Linked DNA regions of Homo sapiens: all the other regions are linked to region 3. The links are contacts of gene promoters, found by promoter capture Hi-C in human tissues and cell types (Jung and others, 2019). All regions are on one chromosome and are shown on one strand. The core of a region is centred on a gene start or on the middle of the fragment in contact, and the rest is flanking DNA. Distances in the headings are between cores, read along the strand shown. Region 1 has its middle 14 kb from the start of FZD2. Region 2 overlaps GPATCH8 (G-patch domain containing 8). Region 3 holds the start of DBF4B (DBF4B-CDC7 kinase regulatory subunit). Region 4 has its middle 22 kb from the start of GPATCH8. Region 5 overlaps EFTUD2 (elongation factor Tu GTP binding domain containing 2). Region 6 overlaps EFTUD2 (elongation factor Tu GTP binding domain containing 2). Region 7 has its middle 8.0 kb from the start of FZD2.

The links. Contacts are between HindIII fragments. The study calls those that stand out against the background at their distance.
Region 1: a fragment that was not itself captured here is called in contact with the fragment with the promoter of DBF4B in region 3 in 5 of the 25 tissues and cell types used here (H1 embryonic stem cells, IMR-90 fibroblasts, lymphoblastoid cells and 2 more).
Region 2: a fragment that was not itself captured here is called in contact with the fragment with the promoter of DBF4B in region 3 in 3 of the 25 tissues and cell types used here (dorsolateral prefrontal cortex, mesenchymal stem cells and mesendoderm cells).
Region 4: a contact is called between a fragment that was not itself captured here and the fragment with the promoter of DBF4B in region 3, in 1 of the 25 tissues and cell types used here (H1 embryonic stem cells).
Region 5: a fragment that was not itself captured here is called in contact with the fragment with the promoter of DBF4B in region 3 in 1 of the 25 tissues and cell types used here (mesenchymal stem cells).
Region 6: a fragment that was not itself captured here is called in contact with the fragment with the promoter of DBF4B in region 3 in 1 of the 25 tissues and cell types used here (mesenchymal stem cells).
Region 7: a fragment that was not itself captured here is called in contact with the fragment with the promoter of DBF4B in region 3 in 3 of the 25 tissues and cell types used here (H1 embryonic stem cells, IMR-90 fibroblasts and aorta).

What each region holds. Positions count from the first base shown.
Region 1 is chr17:44,541,737-44,544,546 of GRCh38, reverse strand. No RefSeq gene overlaps it. Among named protein-coding and RNA genes, the nearest start is that of FZD2, 14 kb to the left of the region's middle. The HindIII fragment of the contact is 8,168 bases long and covers 1-2,810 here.
Region 2 is chr17:44,469,521-44,472,473 of GRCh38, reverse strand. All of the region lies in intron 2 of GPATCH8 (G-patch domain containing 8), which reads left to right. Among named protein-coding and RNA genes, the nearest start is that of GPATCH8, 32 kb to the left of the region's middle. The HindIII fragment of the contact is 3,729 bases long and covers 1-2,953 here.
Region 3 is chr17:44,707,376-44,710,274 of GRCh38, reverse strand. It overlaps DBF4B (DBF4B-CDC7 kinase regulatory subunit), which reads right to left and starts at 1,610. Exons shown (of 14, transcript NM_145663.3): 1 at 1,436-1,610; 2 at 909-971. The coding sequence starts at 1,454. RefSeq lists enhancers at 776-1,289, 1,290-1,804. The HindIII fragment of the contact is 13,873 bases long and covers 1-2,899 here.
Region 4 is chr17:44,523,951-44,526,714 of GRCh38, reverse strand. No RefSeq gene overlaps it. Among named protein-coding and RNA genes, the nearest start is that of GPATCH8, 22 kb to the right of the region's middle. The HindIII fragment of the contact is 9,334 bases long and covers 1-2,764 here.
Region 5 is chr17:44,895,397-44,898,415 of GRCh38, reverse strand. All of the region lies in intron 1 of EFTUD2 (elongation factor Tu GTP binding domain containing 2), which reads left to right. Among named protein-coding and RNA genes, the nearest start is that of EFTUD2, 2.5 kb to the left of the region's middle. The HindIII fragment of the contact is 4,028 bases long and covers 1-3,019 here.
Region 6 is chr17:44,873,445-44,876,279 of GRCh38, reverse strand. EFTUD2 (elongation factor Tu GTP binding domain containing 2) reads left to right here. Exons shown (of 28, transcript NM_004247.4): 10 at 180-346. Among named protein-coding and RNA genes, the nearest start is that of EFTUD2, 25 kb to the left of the region's middle. The HindIII fragment of the contact is 8,659 bases long and covers 1-2,835 here.
Region 7 is chr17:44,564,090-44,566,953 of GRCh38, reverse strand. No RefSeq gene overlaps it. Among named protein-coding and RNA genes, the nearest start is that of FZD2, 8.0 kb to the right of the region's middle. The HindIII fragment of the contact is 3,399 bases long and covers 1-2,864 here.

The sequences.
Region 1 (2,810 bases), core at 150-2,649, 170 kb after region 3:
AGAGCAAGATCCTGTCTCAAAACAAAACAAACAAAAACAAATCTATTCTGATCTCCAATCTGAGAAGGGGTGAAGTGACAAATAAATCTGACATCATCGTGAGAACCCATGAAGTGGACGTAGGACACCTGAATGCTCGTGTCCTGGTCTTGGTGCTTAATACTTTTCTGACCTTCAGTGAATCTTTTCTCTGAGTATCAGTTTCTCCATCTGAAGAATGGGCACAATAAGTCTGTCCTGTTCCCTGTGAAGTGAGGACTGAAAGAGAAACTGGATTTGTAGGGACAGTTGCTTTGGGAAAGGAAGCTCAGATGGTACATGCTGCTTTGTAACCCAGAAGCAGAATATTAGCCAGAGGTCAGCCTGGGAGCCTGGACACAGGCACCTAGGGCAGACCTAGTCACGAGGCAGCATGCTAGGCAGACCACTGTCCTGGACTTGGACTCAATGGATTCAGCTCTGCTTCCTCACTGCATTCCCTGAGATAGGTCACTCTCCCTTTCTGAAGCTCTGACTCTTCATCGATAAGATAGGGACACTAATCTTCTCTTGAAGGGTGGGGAAGATAAGATGAAGTGGTAAGTGACTTCACATAGTGGATGCTCAATATAAGCCTTTAGTGTTGGTTTTTCCTGCTCTCAGGCAGAGGCAGCTGGAGAAGGAAGTTTGCTGGGGAGTTGGGGCAGGTGTCAGACTTCTAAGACCCTGGGGGTTGGTTGCTTTCTCCCGTGACTGGATCACTGATTAATCCTTGAGGAATCTCGAGGCCTAAGGGTTGGTAGTCTAGAGGGACAAATATGTGAATACTGGTTAAAGAAAGAAAAAATCTACAAGGGACTTCAGTTTTGGGGATAGACTGATATAGCCTCTTTGAAGCTGGGGCTGACCCAGTCACTCTGCAAGCATCTGGTTGTGCATACCTTAGTGCCCCTCCTCCAAACTCTTCCAAACATCTCTAAGGGTCCCAAAAGGGTAGAAATGGACTCATTCAGAAGTGAAGAAAGAGATCAGGGCCGCAGCTCTCCATAGCTCCTGTCAGGCCCCTTGGGAGGAGCCTGAATGCTGGGGCAGCTTGTGGGGGGGACTCCAATGATGGAACCAGGAGAGGCAGTTCCTACCTTGTGGATGGGGGTCACTAGGAAGGGAAGAAAAACACTTCCCTCCTCTCCCCGGGAAGCTTTCCTTCCCTGCAGCTGGTGCCCCAAGGATCCCCGCCCCCCATCCCAGGCCCTTCCCTTAGAGAGAGCCTGCTGAGCCTGGAATGAGAAGAATCTGAACTACAAACAGACCTCCCAGAGGCACCCCCAACTCTTCTCTAACCACTTCTAGCCAGCAAAAGGCTGGCTTCCTGGAGTGGAGGCAGGACTGGGGTTTGGGCCTTGGAGAAGGGGCCTAGGTAGGGGCGGTGGGGGGATATTTTTTCCTGGAGAGAGAGGGGAGGGAAAGGTTGAGGTCAAGATAAGGACCAGGTCATACAAGAACCATTTTCCAGGCAGGGCACGGTGGCTCAGCACTTTGGGAGGCCAAGGTGAGCAGATCACTTGAGGCTAGGAGTTTGAGACCAGCCTGGCCAACATGGTGAAACCCCGTCTCTACTGAAAATACAAAATTAGCCAGGTGTGGTGACAGGTGCCTGTAGTTCCAGCTGTTTGGGAGGCTGAGGCACAAGAATCACTTGAACCCAGGAGGCAGAAGTTGCAGTGAGCCGAGATCATGCCACTGCACTCCAGCCTGGGCGACAGAGCGAGACTCCATCTAAAAAAAAAAAGAACCATTTTCCAAACCAAAAATCATCAGAACCAGCGAGAGTATACTTGCAGGGGCTATGAAATTGGGGGTGTGAAATTAAGCCTGCCCCAGAATGATCCAAGCTATGAGGTCTGTGCCCCAAGAGTGACAAGCAATTGCCCAAATCCAAATACAACCTAGGAAGACAGAAAGAAACTGTTGGCGCCCCTGCCCCCACCCCCACCCCCTTGGCCTCTCTCTCTTCCTGTCTGAAACATTCAGTTGAGGTGGCCTCCAGGGCACACGCTCTCCCAGCCCTGTCTGGGCTGCATAACTGAGTCTAAGAAACCTGTGAATGGGCTTTGGGGAGTTGAGGGCAGGGGTTGGAAGCAGAGGGAAGATGGAGACACCAGCCAAAAGGACAGATGGCACAGAGCCAGAGGAGCCCCTCATGCCTGCCACACTTCCCCAGACCCTGGCCTTCTGCCCACTGTCCCCCTAGCATCCCTCCTCTCACCTGGACCCAGTCTGGGGCTTTGATGTGAGTCAGCCAGGGCTGTCAGTGCCCAGGGATGCCAGGCAGTGTACCAGTGGGGGAACCCTGGGGAGGGGACCAGGGAGGAGAGGCTGCTGGAGCTGGAAGCCGCCTTAGGCACGATGACCTCTTTGCAGGGGCCTCTCTCTCCAGCTTGTATAACACAGCTCCTGCCAAGGGTGGTATAGAAAGGCACAGAGCCCACAGCGGGCTGGGGAAGGCGGCTGAAAAGGCAGCTTAAGGGCTTCCTGCTGGGTGAGATGGATTAGGGGCCTGTGAGGAGGGAGCCGGGCAGTGAGAAAGGCACCGGCCCAGCGCCAGAGCCCCTTGGCCAAGACCCTCTGGGAGCAGGAGGCCCTAGGTGTCTGGCAGGAGGCAGTCAGATCAGCATCCTCCACTTGGCCGAGGGGCTGGGAGGATGGGGATCCAGCCGGAGCGACACACAGGGATGGGGAGCTAGACCCCGGGGCCCCCAAAATAGAGGGGGGAAGGAACGGAGGAGACATTTCTCGATGAAGAAGTGGACTTCTAGCAGGAAAAGGGAGGA
Region 2 (2,953 bases), core at 102-2,601, 240 kb after region 3:
ATATTTAACATATTTTAAGCCTAGAGGGCTACACTGAAATATTTTTGGAAATTTCATTCCTATGGCACATGAGGCTAATGCTATTTTACCTCTCATAATGTCCAGGACTTTTTCTGCCACATATAGCGAGAACAGTATCAGAAGGCAGTCTAATTGAGTAATCATTGTTGAATAATCTCATTCAGTGGGAGTAGAATTGATAATATGCCTTATTTATTAAGTAGTGCTACCTTCTTCACTTAAAATAGCAAATAGTATATAGTACTCAGGCTGGATATTTAATTTTTTTAAATAAATGAATGTTCAGAAATGTATATTAGTAATTACACTTCTAATGAAAATTTACTTCTGAAAGATAAATATATGCATTATTTGTGATGAGATAGTTTAGGTTGTAGGAGAGAACTTCATGGCCTACATTGTATTAGGTAGAAGTAGGGCACAGGATCTGGGAGAATAAACAAAGATGCAAGAAAAAATAAGAAAAAAAAAAAGAAGTATTGACACACAAGATAAGAGGGATCTTATTTCTGTTGCCTGATCATTTGTGAGTAAAATTTTAAGTGTTTTTCTCTTTTTTCAACTTTTTTTTTTTTTTTTTACTTTTTTTGGTCACAGAAAATTTTAAGTTTTAAGAGAAACTCCTACAGTGATTGGCATCAAAGTAGGTAGTGTTCCCTCCCTCCCACCAAACAAAAGAAGTCCCTTATCACCTGAGGAATGCCCACTAAATAATAAGTAAATATTTAATTACATGGCTGGCTGGCTATATTAAGCTGTTTTGTTTTTAGGGGAAAATGGTGTTACTTCTAACACAGAAAGAGTGCTGAATTAAAATCTTTCTCTGCAGCAATATCTATTGAGAGGTGCTGACTGTTTTGCTACAGCATGCAACTCAAAAGTGGCTGAAAATATGCAGCTTTGGGAGTCTACAGATCATTGCAGGAGCTAAAGGTCTAGTCATTTTTTTTTAACCAAAGGTAATCTGCAGCAGCTGGTAACCGTGGAGGTCTCTGCACAGGTTTGTGCCAAGAATATGCCTGTGTGAAGGGTTATTGTGAGTATAGGATTAAGGTCTTTTTATTTTGTAGTAGGCTAAATTTGATGCAAACCAGCAAGATGGGAAATGAGACATGAAGATGCAATAATGTATTATGCTTTTAGTGAACTTCCGAAGCTTAGATTTGTTAGTGAGATATTGGTATTTCAATTTTATTAGGTAAATGTTGAAAATATATCAAAATCCAGTATTTGTAAAGCATTTAATAATATTTTTTGAAGTTTAATTTTCCCTTATTTGCTTCAACCAACCAGATATCTTTCAATGAGATTTTTCCTCAAGAATGAAATATCTTTTTAAGAAAATTATATGAGAATTGCTAAACAACTTGATTATCTCTATTAAAAACAAGTTGAAAAGTGTGAACATTTTATCCCTATTACGAGAAGCTTTGAATTTGAATTTTAAAAATTGTTATTGCTTTATGAGATATTTAGGTCTCAAATGTTATAATTATAACCTCCACTTACTTAAAGACAAAATATTTACAAAACAAAGCTTGATCTAAAGCCATAGCTCCGTCTAGGATTCAATCACAGAAGAATTAATTGGTGTTTTTTAGGATACACGGTCCTTTATGACCTTTATCATAGTTAGAAGATGAGGAATTGGGCGCAGGGGCTCACGCCTGTAATCCCAGCACTTTGGGATGCTGAGGCGGGCAGATGACGAGGTCAGGAGTTCGAGAACAGCCTGACCAACATGGTGAAACCCTGTCTCTACTAAAAATACAAAAAGTAGCCAGACGTGGTGGCACATGCCTGTGCATGTGCTGGGATTACCCAGCTACTCAGGAGGCTGAGGCAGGAGGATTGCTTGAACCTGGGAGGCAGAGGTTGCAGTGAGTCGAGATCACGCCACTGTACTCCAGCCTGGGTGACAGAGCGAGACTCCGTCTCAAAAAAAAAAAAAAAAAAAAGCGCTGGGTGCAGTGGCTCACACCTATAATCCCAGCACTTTGGGAGGCCGAGGTGGGTGGATCACAGGGTCAGGAGATAGACCATTCTGGCTAACACGGTGAAACCCCATGTCTACTAAAAATACAAAACTTAGCCGGGTGTGGTGGCACACGCCTGTAGTCCCAGCTACTCAGGAGGCTGAGGCAGGAGAATCGCTTGAACCCAAGATCGTGCCACTGCACTCCAGCCTGGGTGACAGAGCGAGACTCGATCTCCAAAAACAAACAAACAAAAAAAGATGAGGGATCAGATGGGAGAATGACTTTAAGCTATATAGAAGGCAGAATGCATGCATCATAGACTTAAAACATGTTGTTACTGTTGTGGTTGGAAGTGCAACTACCCATCAGCCGCTAGTCGGTCCTTGCTCTACCTGACTGATTAAAATTCTTTCTTTATGGTTGTCAGGATGACCTAATAGGTTTAAAAATGTAGTGTAAGCTTCAAACTCCAGTTGCTGATGTTTAGTTTGCGCATCTTAAGGATTTGGAAGTATATGTATAATTGGGTTTTGTGATGTTGCATATCTGTCTAGATCTGTGGACTCCACTAGTTCCAAACTGTAATTCTTTATAAGACTGCTGATTTGACATTTAGCAGTGACCATATGTGGACTGCACTAGAAATAATGTGCTTCTTGGAGCTGAATGGTGTAGCATTACTATATGGCTTTTCTCTCTAGTCTTCATTGTGTCATCTGTAGTGAGCTATAGAGTTTTTTTGTTTCGGGAATTTTTACAACTTGTTTGCATGGGTTCACCTAGTAGCATTGGTTCTTGCTTATAGTCTTTAATACACAATCAGCAAAGCTTACAATCCACTCAAGAGACTTACTATTTTGTCACTGTTGAAAATGGGCTAAATGATGTAAATTGAATGTGGCTGTCAACTAAAACAAAATTCAGTATAGAATTAGTATTCATCCAGTCATGGA
Region 3 (2,899 bases), core at 361-2,860:
CAGTAAATGAAGTGGATTACTGTTTAAAAGGCAACAAGCCGATGGCATATCTGTTAACAATCCAGAAGTAAAAGTAGACGGTATTTTTTTTTTCTTTTTTTTGAGACGGAGTCTCGCTCGGTCGCCCAGGTTGGAGTGCAGTGGCGCAATCTCGGCTCGCTGCAACCTCCGCCTCCTGGGTTCAATCAATTTTCCTGCCTCAGCCTCCTGAGTAGCTGGGACTACAGGCACGCCTCACCACGCCCGCCTAATTTTTTGTATTTTTAGTAGAGATGGGGTTTCACTGTGTTAGCCAGGATGGTCTCAATCTCCTGACCTCGTGATCCGCCCGCCTTGGCCTCCCAAAGTGCTGGGATTACAGGCGTGAGCAGCCGCGCCCGGCCAACTAGATGATATTAACTAAAGGGGCAGTACGGAGGGAAGTGCCATGTGCTAAAATACTTACCTAATTAGGTAGCAGTGTTTAACTTAAGGATTTTATTGTAAACAACTATGAATGTATTAATTTATATATTTAATAAGTCACTCTATCCTGACTCCACATCTGTCTGTTAATCTTGTTCATAATATGACTCTTACTTGACCTTTATCATGAATCCCAAAACGGTCTATGATGCTGCGTCCATACACACACACACATAAAACCACTAAGTGGGCCTGGTGAAGTGGCTCACACCTGTAATCCCAGCATTTTGGGAGGCCTAGGCAGGAGAACTGCTTGAGGCCAGGAGTTTGAGACCAGCTTGGCCAACACAGCAAGACCCCATCCCAATAAATAAAATGAATAAATAAGTACATAAAAACACTGAGTGATCGAAAACTCCAACAGGGGGAACATTTTTCGGTCTTCTCCAAGAGACCCTGGGGCAATTTTCACCTCACGTCCCTAGTTCTGTCCTGTTACCCACCTAGGTCCGGGGCCCGGAGCCTACTCTCAGCCATGGAACTCTCCAGCTCGAGGCAATCGTCTCCTGAGAAAGGACATAACAGCAACTCAACCATCTTCACCAACCCTTGGAACTTCCATGCCTCCCGCCCACTACTGTCTCCCAAAACGCGCACAGAAACGCGACTCCTGGGAACAGCAAGACTCAACTCCATTCCGACCTACATCCCGCGACTCCCGCCAGGCTCTTGCCCCTCATGCCCTCCGCCTCCTTTCAGACTCCGTTCAGTCAACGGCCGTGACCTCTTGGCCACCTCCTGTCCATCTCAATCTCCATACATCCCTCCAGGCTGTTGTCCCCTACGTTCCTCTGCCACCTTCATTCCTCGGTCCCCTCAACTCCTGTGGCTCCTTCCCGGCCCCTATACCCTCCTCAGCTTCGGCACCTACCCGCTGGTCACTTCCTAAGCCCCCTCCACGACTCCGCACCTCGCCTCAGCTATTAACGACCCCTTCCGCCTTTCTTTCTCCCCTTCCCGGCATCCGTACCCTTTCCCGGTTCGCTCATCAAATGCCGGCTCCTTCTCGGCCTCCGTACTCCTTCCTCAGAGGCCTCCGTATTACATTCGCGAGCTCCATGAGCTCTTCCCGATTCCACAGTCCTGGTTATCTCAGGGCAGCTACAGCATCAATCTCTTGGCGTTTTCGGCCGCGGCTTCAGTTTAAATTTCCTGCCGGCTCCACCCCTAAAAGAACGCCGTAGCTGCGAGATCCGCCCTACGGTGTCCTTGGAAGGACAATATTAGTTTCGCGATTCCTCTTTCCGTTCCCCCACCGCCTACGTCTTCTCAAACCGTCTCTTCATTTCTTGGCTCTTCACTGGCTAGACGGCTTTGCCCCTTAATGGCCCTCAAGTTGAGGACTAGTGGTCGCTTTTTAGTGATTCTTCACACTGAGCTGCATTGAAATTCCTAGAAGTTTGAATACTAAATAACAAAATAAGCCTAACACTTGCAGAGCATTTGCAGTTTACATAAAGATTTCACTTACACATCATTTCATCTTCACATTTTTGTCCCCCTCCCGTTCTTCAATTATTACCTGCCCAACAAAACTTCTCAAAAGACGTATCTTTATCCCTCACTTCCCATCTTTTCTTCAACCCATCTAATTAGACTGCTAATTAGAGATCAAATTTGATCTAATAAGAGATCATTCAGTGGAGAGCTGGGGACCTCCCCACAAAAACTGTACTTATCCAGGTCAACTGTGATTTCCACAGTCTGAAATACTATCCTTATCATATCCAACTTATAGATGGACTATTCCTTCTTTGAAATACTTTCTTCTTTTTGCTTCCATGACTCAGCACTCTACCGTTTTTTTCCCTATCTCAATGGTTCCTCCTCAGTCCCCTTTGCTGGATCCAAAGCCACTGTTCACCTATATATTTTGGAGTATGCCAACGCTTTAGCCCTTATCCCTCTCCCTTATCTCCCTAGGAGATCTCATCCAGCTCCACAGCTTTACAATTCAGCTCTGCCACACCTTCAGATTTTCTGTAGCTCTGACCTGTCTGATCTCCAGACTCACATATTCAAGTGCCTACTGGCTATTTCAATTTGGATGTCTAATAGGCACCTCAGGCTGAACACATTCAAAACAGAACATTTGTTTCGCTGCCCCTGTCAAAAAACCACCTGTTCTCCCCCCAGGTCTTCCCCTCTCAGTAAAATGTTACTGTTTACTCAAATGTCACAATCATTCACCCAGTTGCTCAAACCAAAAACCTAGAAGTTGTCTTTCAGTACTTTCCCTTGTGCCCATCCCCACTCCAAGAAAAAAATCCTACTAACTCTGCCTCCAAAGTACATCTGGAATCAGACCACCACCACCCTAGTTCAAGCTGCTATCATTTCTTGCCTAAAGTACTGCGGTCAATTCTTCACTTCTACTCCCGAGTAGCTTCCTATCTCTCCCCAGTATAATCCATTCTCCATTCAGCAACCAGAG
Region 4 (2,764 bases), core at 193-2,692, 180 kb after region 3:
CTCTTGAATTCTAGGTTGGAAGTTATTTTCTTTCAGTATGTTCAAGATATCATTCTACTGGCTTATGGCTTCCATTATTGCTGTTGTTGAGAAGGCTGCTCTTAAGATTTTCTTTCTATATTCAGGCCAGGCGCAGTGGCTCATGCCACCTAGCACTTTGGGAGGCCATGGTGGGTAGATCACTCGAGGTCAGGAGTCAAGACCAGCCTGGCCAACACAGTGAAACCCCGTGACTACTAAAAATACAAAAATTAGCTGGATGTGGTGGTGGGCACCTGTAATCCCAGCTACTCGGGATGCTGAGGCAGGAGAATCTCTTGAACCTGAAGGCAGAGGTTGCAGTGAGCTGAGATCATGAGCTGAGATCACGCCACTGCACTCCAACCTGGGTGATGGAGTGAGACTTTCTCTCAAAATAAAATTTTTTTTCTTTCTGTATTCAGAATTCTGACATTTCATTGTGATGTATCTGCATGTAGATTCTATTTTATTTATCCTGCTTAGAATTCTTCACGCTTCCAGAACTTGTGGATTGATGCTCCATCAGAATTGGGAAATTCTCAGCCATTATCTTTTCAAATCTTCACCTTGCCACATTCTCTTGTTCTTTCCTTTAAAAAAAAAGTATTTTAAATAAAATAAAATGGGGTCTTGCTGTTTTGCCCAGGCTGGGTTCAAAATCCTGGCTCAAGCAATACTCACATAGTGGGATGAAAGGTATGCATGCACCACCATGCCTGGCTTCTTTTTTTTTTTTTCCTTCTAGAATTCTGATTAAACGATATTAGATTCTTTCATTGTATCCTCCATGTGTCTCAAACTCTTCTTTTTGTCCCTTTTCTGCATTCTGGGTAATTTCTTCTGCTCTGTCTTCCAATGCCTCTCTGGGATCCCACTTTCCTTTAAGTTTTGGCCTGGAAATTCATCTCTCTTGTCAAATATCTGTAATATTGCTAAGGATTTTTTTTTTTTAATTGATCATTCTTGGGTGTTTCTCGCAGAGGGGGATTTGGCAGGGTCACAGGACAATAGTGGAGGGAACGTCAGCAGAAAAACAAGTGAACAAAGGTCTCTGGTTTTCCTAGGCAGAGGACCCTGCGGCCTTCCACAGTGTTTGTGTCCCTGGGTACTTGAGATTAGGGAGTGGTGATGACTCTTAAGGAGCATGCTGCCTTCAAGCATCTGTTTAACAAAGCACATCTTGCACCGCCCTTAATCCATTCAACCCTGAGTGGATACAGCACATGTTTCAGAGAGCACAGGGTTGGGGGTAAGGTCACAGATCAACAGGATCCCAAGGCAGAAGAATTTTTCTTAGTACAGAACAAAATGAAAAGTCTCCCATGTCTACCTCTTTCTACACAGACACAGCAACCACCCGATTTCTCAGTCTTTTCCCCACCTTTCCCCTTTCTATTCCACAAAACTGCCATTGTCATCATGGCCCGTTCTCAATGAGCTGTTGGGTACACCTCCCGGACGGGGTGGTGGCCGGGCAGAGGGACTCCTCACTTCCCAGTAGGGGCGGCCGGGCAGAGGCGCCCCTCATGTCCCAGACGGGGCGGCTGGCCGGGCGGGGGGCTGACCCCCCCACCTCCCTCCCGGACGGGGCGGCTGGCCGGGCAGGGGGCTGACCCCCCCACCTCCCTCCCGGACGGGGCGGCTGGCCGGGCAGAGGGGCTCCTCACTTCCCAGTAGGGGCGGCCGGGCAGAGGCGCCCCTCACCTCCCGGACGGGGCGGCTGGCCGGGCGGGGGGCTGACCCCCCCACCTCCCTCCCGGACGGAGCGGCTGGCCGGGCAGAGGGGCTCCTCACTTCCCAGTAGGGGCGGCCGGGCAGAGGCGCCCCTCACTTCCCGGACGGGGCGGCTGGCTGGGCGGGGGGCTGATCCCCCCACCTCCCTCCCGGACGAGGTGGCTGCTGGGCAGAGACGCTCCTCACTTCCCAGACGGGGTGGCTGCTGGGCGGAGGGGCTCCTCACTTCTCAGACGGGGCGGCTGCCGGGTGGAGGGACTCCTCACTTCTCAGACGGGGCGGTTGCCAGGCAGAGGGTCTCCTCACTTCTCAGACCATGGGTGGCCGGGCAGAGATGCTCCTCACTTCCCAGATGTGATGGCGGCCGGGAAGAGGCGCTCCTCACTTCCTAGATGGGATGGCGGCCGGGCAGAGACGCTCCTCACTCTCCAGACTGGGCAGCCAGGCAGAGGGGCTCCTCACATCCCAGATGATGGGCGGCCAGGCGGAGACGCTCCTCACTTCCCAGACGGGGTGGCGGCCAGGCAGAGGCTGCAATCTCGGCACTTTGGGAGGCCAAGGCAGGCTGCTGGGAGGTGGAGGTTGTAGCGAGCCAAGATCACGCCACTGCACTCCAGCCTGGGCACCATTGAGCACTGAGTGAACGAGACTCCGTCTGCAATCCCGGCACCTCGGGAGGCCGAGGCTGGCGGATCACTCGCGGTTAGGAGCTGGAGACCAGCCCGGCCAACACAGCGAAACCCCGTCTCCACCAAAAAAATACGAAAACCAGTCAGGCGTGGCGTCGCGCGCCTGCAATCGCAGGCACTGGGCAGGCTGAGGCAGGAGAATCAGGCAGGGAGGTTGCAGTGAGCCGAGATGGCAGCAGCACCGTCCAGCTTCAGCTCGGCATCAGAGGGAGACCGTGGAAAGAGAGGGAGAGGGAGACTGTGGAAAGAGAGGGAGAGGGAGACCGTGGGGAGAGGGAGAGGGAGAGGGAGAGGAGGATTTTTTTTTTAAAAAGCCTTTA
Region 5 (3,019 bases), core at 194-2,693, 190 kb before region 3:
AAAACCCATCTCTACTAAGAATACAAAAAAATTAGCCAGGCGTAGTGGTGCACTCCTGTAGTCCCAACTACTCGGGAGGCTGAGGCAGGAGAATCGCTTGAAACCAGGAGGCGGAGGTTGCAGTGAACTGAGATCGTGCCGTTGTACTCCAGCCTGGGCAACAAGAGCAAAACTCTGTCTCAAAAAATATATATAAAATAAATAAATAATTTCTTCAATCCCTTGACTGGGGTCTTGGGAGAATGAGATAAGCATAAATGCGATAGTAGCTTTTTAGAAGTAAAAAGAATATGCATGTGAAAGTTTCCATAATAATTTACATTTAATTATTGGTCCTTGGAGCTCCAATTCTCTCTCTACATTCAGCACCCAGCAGGTGGCATTGAGGGAGTTGGAGGTATCAGTCTAATCCAAGAAATATCAGCATCTTAAAATTAAACATCCCATTCAGTTAACATTTATCCAGTTCCTACTTATGCAAGGTGCTGTCTTGGCTATTGGCTGTGTTAGCATTGGTACTTTTTTCTCAATTATTTAAAAATGTAAAATGTGGCCGGGTGCGGTGGCTCACACCTGTAATCTCAGCACTTTGGGAGGCCGAGGTGGGCTAATCACCTGAGGTCAAGAGTTCGAGACTGCCTGGCCAACATGGTTGAAACCCCGTCTCTACTAAAAATACAAAAATTAGCCAAGTGTGATGGCGGGTGCCTGTAATCCCAGCTACTTGGGAGGTTGAGGCAGGAGAATCGCTTGAACCTGTGAGGCGGAGGTTGCAGTGAGTCGAGATCGTGCCACTGCACTCCAGCCTAGGCAACAGAGCGGGACTCCGTCTCAAAAAAATAAAAAAATAAAAATGTAAAATGCATTCTTAGCTGGAGGACCATGCAAAAACAGTTGGAGGGGCCAGATTTGGCCACAGGTCAGAGTTTGTCAACTCTTGCTCTAAAGTATTAGGAGGTGAAGAGGCATTGTGTCAGCAGCATACTGTCAAATATTTGGGGAAAAGAAAGTTATTTGTACTGTTCTTGCCACTTTTTGGTATTATTTTAAAATTAAATTTAGTATCATAAAAGAAGTGAAGAGAAGAAGCAGGTGCATGGAACACAGGGTTCTCATGATCAAGGATGGCAAAAAATAATGCTAGCTAACGTTTATTGAGCCTAGGACTCTGGTAAATTCTTTTTTTTTTTTTTTTTTTTTGAGACGGAGTCTCTCTCTGTCACCCAGGCTGGAGTGCAGTGGCGCTGTCTCCGCTCACTGCAAGCTCCGCCTCCTGGGTTCACACCATTCTCCTGCCTCAGCCTCCCCAGTAGCTGGGACTACGGGCGCCCACCACCACACTTGGCTAATTTTTTGTATTTTTAGTAGAGACAGGGTTTCACCGTGTTAGCCAGGATGGTCTCGATCTCCTGACCTCGTGATCCACCCACCTCAGCCTCCCAAAGTGCTGGGATTACAGGCGTGAGCCACTGCACCCAGCTGGACTCTGGTAAATTCTTTACACAGGGTGTTTTATTTAATCCTCATAACCATTTATTCAGTGAGGATTATTCATTCCATTTTCCAGTTGAAGAATAGGAATCAGGTTGGAAGAGATGAAGTAACTTACCTCAAGTTACATAGTTGTTGGTGACAAAGTTGGGATTTGAATCTAAGTCTTCCAACTCCAGAGCCCTGATGCTCTAGTCTGTTATTTATTGCTTATAAACTATAGTTGGTGATGGTAATTAGTAACTACTATTTGTTTATTTATTTTGTTTATTTTTTTCGAGACGGAGTCTCACTCTGTCAGCCAGGCTGAAGTGCAGTGGTGCGATCTCAGCTCACTGCAACCTCTGCCTCCTGGATTCAAGTGATTCTCCTGCCTCAGCCTGCTGAGTAGCTGGGACTACAGGTGTGTGCCACCACACCTGGCTAATTTTTTGTATTTTTAGTAGAGACGGGGTTTCACTGTGTTAGCCAGGATGGTCTCTATCTCCTGACCTCATGATCCGCCCATCTTGGCCTGCCAAAGTGCTGGGATTACAGGCATGAGCCACTGTGCCCAGCCAGTTAACTACTATTTAAGACAAAATTAAATACTGATAAAGGTGCAAAAAGCTCTAGTAGGATAGAGGAATGAGAAATTGAGGAGCTAGGAAAGCTTGAAGGAGGTGGTGGCATTTGAACTGTTTCTTTGAATAGAATTTCAGTAATTGAAGTGGAGAAAACCCACAAAACACTACTTAATTACAAAGGGAAAATGAGTAACTTTACAATGGAGAGGCCTGGCAAACATCACCTTAATGAAGTGATCAAAGTTAACGTTACCACTAATGGGGCAAATTGAAATCATGTATCACCTGATACGAAATGCATTGAGAAGAACACAGCATCACTTCTATGATATTCCTGCCCAAAACGCATAACCTGAATATTATCATAAGGTAACATCAGACAACCTCAAATCAAGGGACATCCTTAAGGATTTCATGACAGTCCTTGGAAGGAAAGACTGAAGATTGTAGATCCAAAGACTGAAGATTGTAGATCCAAAGAGACTAGAGACATGACAACCAAATGCAAACATGATCCTGGATTGGATCCTTAGGTGTGTAAGGTATTATTGGAACAATCTGTGAAACTTGAATGGGATCTGTAAAGAAGGTGGTAGTAATGTGTGAATATCAATTTTCTGATTTTGATGGTTGTATTGTGGTTATGTAGGAGAATGTTCTTGTTTGTAGGAATTACACATGGTGAGGGAGAGGTTGGCAAACTTTTTCTATTAAGGACTGGATAATATTTTAGGCTTTGTGAGCCATATGGTTTCAGTCTCAACTATTCAACTCTGCTATTACAGTGTGAAGGCAACTGTAAATGATGCAAATGAATATGCATGGCTGTTTTCCAGTGAAACTTTTTTTTTTTTTTTTTTTTTGAGATGGAGTCTTGTTCTGTCTCCCAGGCTGGAGTGCAGTGGTGCCATCTCGCCTCACTGCAACCTCCACCCCCTGGGTTCAAGGGATTCTCCTATATC
Region 6 (2,835 bases), core at 75-2,574, 170 kb before region 3:
CTTAAAGTTCCTGTGTCTATCTTCGGGCAGGATGCTCTCTGCTTCCACCCAGTAATATTTCCCGAGGTCTTTTTTTCTCCCCAGGCTTCATGGTTTGAAATAGTGCCTTCTTTGGTTCTGCTTTGAACTTTCTGCCCTCCTTGTTCTTCTTACCACCTTCTGAGCCTTGTTTTTCTCAGGTGATGCTGAACACAGAGCGGCTGATCAAGCATGCGGTGCAGGAGAGGCTGGCAGTCACTGTGTGCATCAACAAGATTGACCGGCTGATCCTGGAGCTGAAGCTGCCTCCAACTGATGCTTATTACAAGCTGCGCCACATTGTGGATGAGGTCAATGGATTAATAAGGTAGAAAACCCCTGGGAGTGGATTTCCTGTCCTCGGAGGCTCTGGGTTTTAACCCTGAATACCTCTGGGAACAACTGTGATTTATTTCTAAGCGTGTGTTGATGAGTTTGTTGGGCAAAACTAGAGGCACATCCTGGGACTCTGCAGGGGTTGACTTCATACTTTAACACATCTTCATTTTACTATTATGATCAGTACTTGGGCTGTATTAATTTCTTCTCTTTTTAGAGATAGGATCTCTGTTACCCAAGCTAGAGTGCAGTGTCACAATCACAGCTCACTGCAGCCTCGAACTTCTGGGCTCAAGCAATCCTCCCACCTCAGTCTCCTGATAGCTGGGACCACAGGCATGTGCCACCATACCTGGCTATATATTTTTTAAATTAATTAATTTATTTTTTTTTGAGACGGAGTCTCGCTCTGTCGCCCAGGCTGGAGTGCAGTGGCATGATCTCGGCTCACTGCAAGCTCCGCCTCCCGGGTTCATGCCATTCTCCTGCCTCAGCCTCTCAAGTAGCCGGGACTACAGGCACCCGTCACCACGCCCGGCTAATTTTTTGTATTTTTAGTAGAGACAGGGTTTCACTGTGTTAGCCAGGTTGGTCTTGACCTTCTGAGCTCGTGATCCGCCCACCTCGGCCTCCCAAAGTGCTGGGATTACAGGCGTGAACCACCACCCCCGGCCAATTTTTTTTAATTTTAATTTTTATTTTTTATTTATTTATATTTTTTTTGTAGAGATGGAGTCTTGCTATGTTGCCCAGGCTGGTCTTAAACTGGCCTCAAGCAATTCTTCCACCTTGGCCTTCCAAAGTGCTAGCATTACAGATTTGAGCCGCTGCACCCAGCCTGGGCTCTAGAATCAGCCTCCTCTTCACCACATACCAACCATGTAAAGTTGGGCAGATTACTTAAGTTCAGTTTCTGCTTCAGTAAAAAAGGAATAATATTTGCCTAACAGCAATAGTAGCAAATATTATTAGGCATTTATAGTATAAGTTAACATAACTTACAAGGGATGTTATAAGAAATTAAATAGATATTTGATGGAACACAGCACAGTGCTTGCAATGTAGCAGCTGATGTGCTGAATAATGTTAGCTGCTATTATCTTATAATTAACACAGTCTAAATAAATTAAGAACTGTTTGCTGTGTTTCTGTGGATATACCTGCTTCTCAACAAGATGGATTTAGGGCTTGCATTGATACATATGAGTGATGGTTATGATACCTTAGAATATAATATCAAAGGGCCTTTGAAACAGAGGTTAAATATATCTTAAAGACAGTCTTACTACAGGCTGAAAGATGTGCTAGATGACTTCCTGCAGCCCCTCAAATGGGCCTGTGAGGAGGCCGTCCTACTGAAAGAATGCCTCTCCAACTGAAAGAATGCCTCTCCATTTAAGGATTGGGGATGGAACCTGTGTGGCTAGAGACAGATACCTTCAGGAGCCTTCCCAGTGTGTAGCACTACTTTTCAAAAGGAATATCTTCACCCCATCTCTGCAAGGACTGAGAATGACTAGAGCCCAGTGTGACATCATGAGTCCAAAGGATGAAATGACAAATATATTTTAATAAGAAGGCCAAGCGTGATAGCTTATGCCTGTAATCCCAGCACTTTGAGAGGTCAAGGCAGGAGGATCCCTTGGGGCTAGGAGTTCAAGGCCAGCCTGGGCAACATAGCTAGACTCTGTGTCTACAAAAAATAATTTTGAAATTAGCTTGGCGTGCTGGCATGTGTTTGTAGTCTTAGCTACTCGGGAGGCAGAGGCAAGAGGATCACTTGAGCCAAGGAGTTCAGGGTTATAGTGAGCTATGATTGTGCTGTTGTACTCCAATGTGGGTGACAGAGTGAGATCCTGTCTCTTAAAAAAAAAAAAAAAAAAAAAAGAGGCCGGGCACGGTGGCTCACGCCTGTAATCTCAGCACTTTGGGAGGCCGAGGCGGGCGGATCATGAGGTCAGGAGATCGAGACCATCCTGGCTAACACGGTGAAACCCCATCTCTACTAAAAAATACAAAAAAAATTAGCCGGGCTTGGTGGCGGGCGCCTGTAATCCCAGCTACTGAGGAGGCTGAGGCAGGAGAATGGCGTGAACCCGGGAGACGGAGCTTGCAGTGAGCTGAGATTGCACCACGGCACTCCAGCCTGGGCAACAGAGCAAGACTCCATCTCAAAAAAAAAAAAAAAAAGTAGGAAGTGGGATAGAGCTGAACTTAACCTGATTTACTAAAATAGGAAGTCAAGAGGTCATGTTTCAAACCTCTAAACAAGAGGCCAGGCACAGTGGCTTATACCTAGAATCCCAGCACTTTGGGAGGCCAAGCAGGATATTGCTTGAGCCCAAGAGTTCAAGGTTCAAGCCTGGGCAACATGGCTTTTGTATCTCATCTCTACAAAAATTAGCCAGGCTTGGTGGTTCATGCCTGCAGTCCCAGCTACTTGGGATGCTGAGGAGGGAGGATTGCGTGAGCTTGAGA
Region 7 (2,864 bases), core at 352-2,851, 140 kb after region 3:
CCTCTAAAAAAATTAGTCTAAAAAAAAGCATAAGGACTAAAAGCTGGGTTTGAGCTCCAATTCTGCAATTACCTGTGAGCTTCAGGCAGTGTCTCTCTGGCCTCTGGGCCTCATTTTTCTTTTTCTTTTCTTTGTTTGTTTTTTTTTTTTTTTTTTTGAGACGGAGTCTCATTCTATCACCCAGGCTGGAGTGCGGTGGTGCGATCTTGGCTCACTGCAACCTCCGCTTCCCAGGTTCAAACGATTCTCCTGCCTCAGCCTCCTGAGTAGCTGGGATTACAGGCAAGCGCCACCACGCCCGGCTAATTTTTGTATTGTTAGTAGAGACTGGGTTTCACCATGTTGGTCAGGCTGGTCTCCAACCCCTGACCTTGTGATCCGCCCGCCTCGGCCTCCCAAAGTGCTGGGATCATAGGCGTGAGCCAGCGCACCCAGCCGCTCTCACACGGTTTGAAATGTGCCAATCAGACCAACTTTTCCTAGAGGTGCCATGTACACCTTTACCTTGACAGCCACAGGCATGGCTCAGGGCACCTTTCTTCACCCTTTCCCCTCCCAGCTCAGGCGCCCATGCGTGCCCGCAGCAGGCAAAGGCCAAGCCCAACAGCCAAGAGTGGGCGGGAGAAAGCCGTGGTGGTAGCCAAACAGGGCAAACGGATGGGCGCTTCTTGCCGGCTGCGCCAATAAAACCTTTCCTCCCCTGGCCAAAGAATTCAACACGGTCTGAACTAGAGGAAAGATATAAGGATTAGGGGGGCCCACTTGCAGTAAGCAAGGGGTTCTTCTCCCAGAATCCTCCTCTTTTTGGCCTTTTAACTGTTTTTCTTTTTTTCCTTTTCTAAGTGAGAGGGCTCCCCCATCCCAGTAGTTTCTGATAGGGAAGTTAACGGAGGAGCGACCCCTGCTGGCTGAGAACTGCAAATTCAGCAGGGCACATCTGAGACACTCTGAACAGATACAAACAGCCTCTAAACCAACTTTTCAATCCCAAATTCGATTCCAGGCTTCAGGCTGAGGCCCTAGAGAGAAAAACCAGGTCCGAGGGATCCAAAGCCAGGCAACAGGCACAATGTAAATGGGCAGAACCAATTCCTGACGAGTGAACCCCCCACCACATAGAAGGAGGCCATGTTCCATGGCACAAACAGGCCCAGGGAACTCAGTTTGCTGACAGCAGGAAGAAAGGGAGGGAGAAAGGGAGGTGTAGATGAGAGCAGTTAATTCCTATTCTCCAGGTTTTCCCTGCTTCATGGGTACATACCGCATTGGTACCCATGGCTGGCACCTGACAAGGTCACCAGGGCTCAGGGACAAGAGGTGGAGGGTGCAGGGAGGATACTCGCTTTCTCTCTCCATCACACTCTGAGTATTCGCTGAAAGAAGGAAGGGAGTAGGGGACGCCTTTTTTCCCTGTCTTTCAGAATGGGCAACCAGTTCTCTTCACCACCCCCAGCTTATACTCTTCTGGAGTATAATGTATTCTGAACCATTGGGATTGCTTTGACCCTCAGCATCTGAAGGAAAAGCACCTCATAGCCCTCTGCACAAAGGTTTGGCCAAATTATGATTTATAGGAAGGACTGGCGTGGCCTCAGGAAGGGACCATTCATTTCAATACCATTGAACTAGGACCAAGCCCCTCAATTATACTAAATTGTCCATGATTGACCAGGGATTTGATGAAAATCCCACTGCCTTCCTGGAGAGGCTAAGAGGGAGCTTGGTAAAGCACCTCTCTCTATCTCCTGATTCAGTAGAGGGACAACTAATTCTAAAGGATCAATTTATTACTTGGGCAGCTCCTGACATCAGAAGGAAGATACAAAAACAGGCCCCGGGACCAGATAGTACTTTGAAGAAACTCCTGAAAGTAGCCACCTTGGTCTTTTATAATAGAGACTGGGAGGCCCAGGAAAGAGAGAGGAGATACAGGAAAGAGGCAAAAGCTTTAATGGCCATCGTGCAAGTCCACAAATCCCAGAATTCCCAGGGTGCACCTGTTAACTGCTAAAAGATATGGCAAGAACAGTTATCTCTTCTCAAGTTGAACTGCTCCTATATAAGGTTTAATTTCTTACAGCTCAGGGTACAATGTTGTTAGTATATTTTACTTCTTGTCTCTGGAATCTTTGGCACTAAATTCTTTCCTTGTATAATACACGTTTAATTTATGCACACTTAACCTTATAAAACTTGTTTTATTCTCTTGCGCCTAGAAGCCACCAAACTGCAAACGGTCAGGCAATCGGAGCCTCGGATGATGGCTCCCCTTTCCTAGGAACCCTTAGATAGACCTCTAGGAGGAGTCTGACTGCTGTTTTCCCCAAAACAATGCCCCCTATCAGCATGAAGCAGCTAAGACCAGTCATCGTCCATATTCTAAGGGCAGTTAGATGTACCTCTTCACACGGAGGAAATGATAGGGAAGTGCTGGGAAGGGAAGACTGTGGTCCTTTTAAATGATAGGGAACAGTTTAAAAACTATTGGTAACACTTCTCTTGTCAAGAAATTAGATCTTTTGATCCACTGATTTTATTTTTGGAAATGTATTCTAAGTGGGGGCCAGGCGCGGTGGCTCACACCTGTAATCCCAGCACTTTGGGAGGCCAAGGCGGGCGGATCACGAGGTCAGGAGATCGAGACCATCCTGGCTAACCCGGGGAAACCACATCTCTACTAAAAATACAAAACAAAACAAAAAAAACTAGCCAGGCGTGGTGGCGGGCGCCTGTAGTCCCAGCTACTCCAGAGGCTGAGGCAGGAGAATGGCGTGAACCCGGGAGGCGGAGCTTGCAGTGAGCCGAGATCGCGCCACCGCACTCCAGCCTGGGCGACAGAGCCAGACTCCGTCTCAAAATAAATA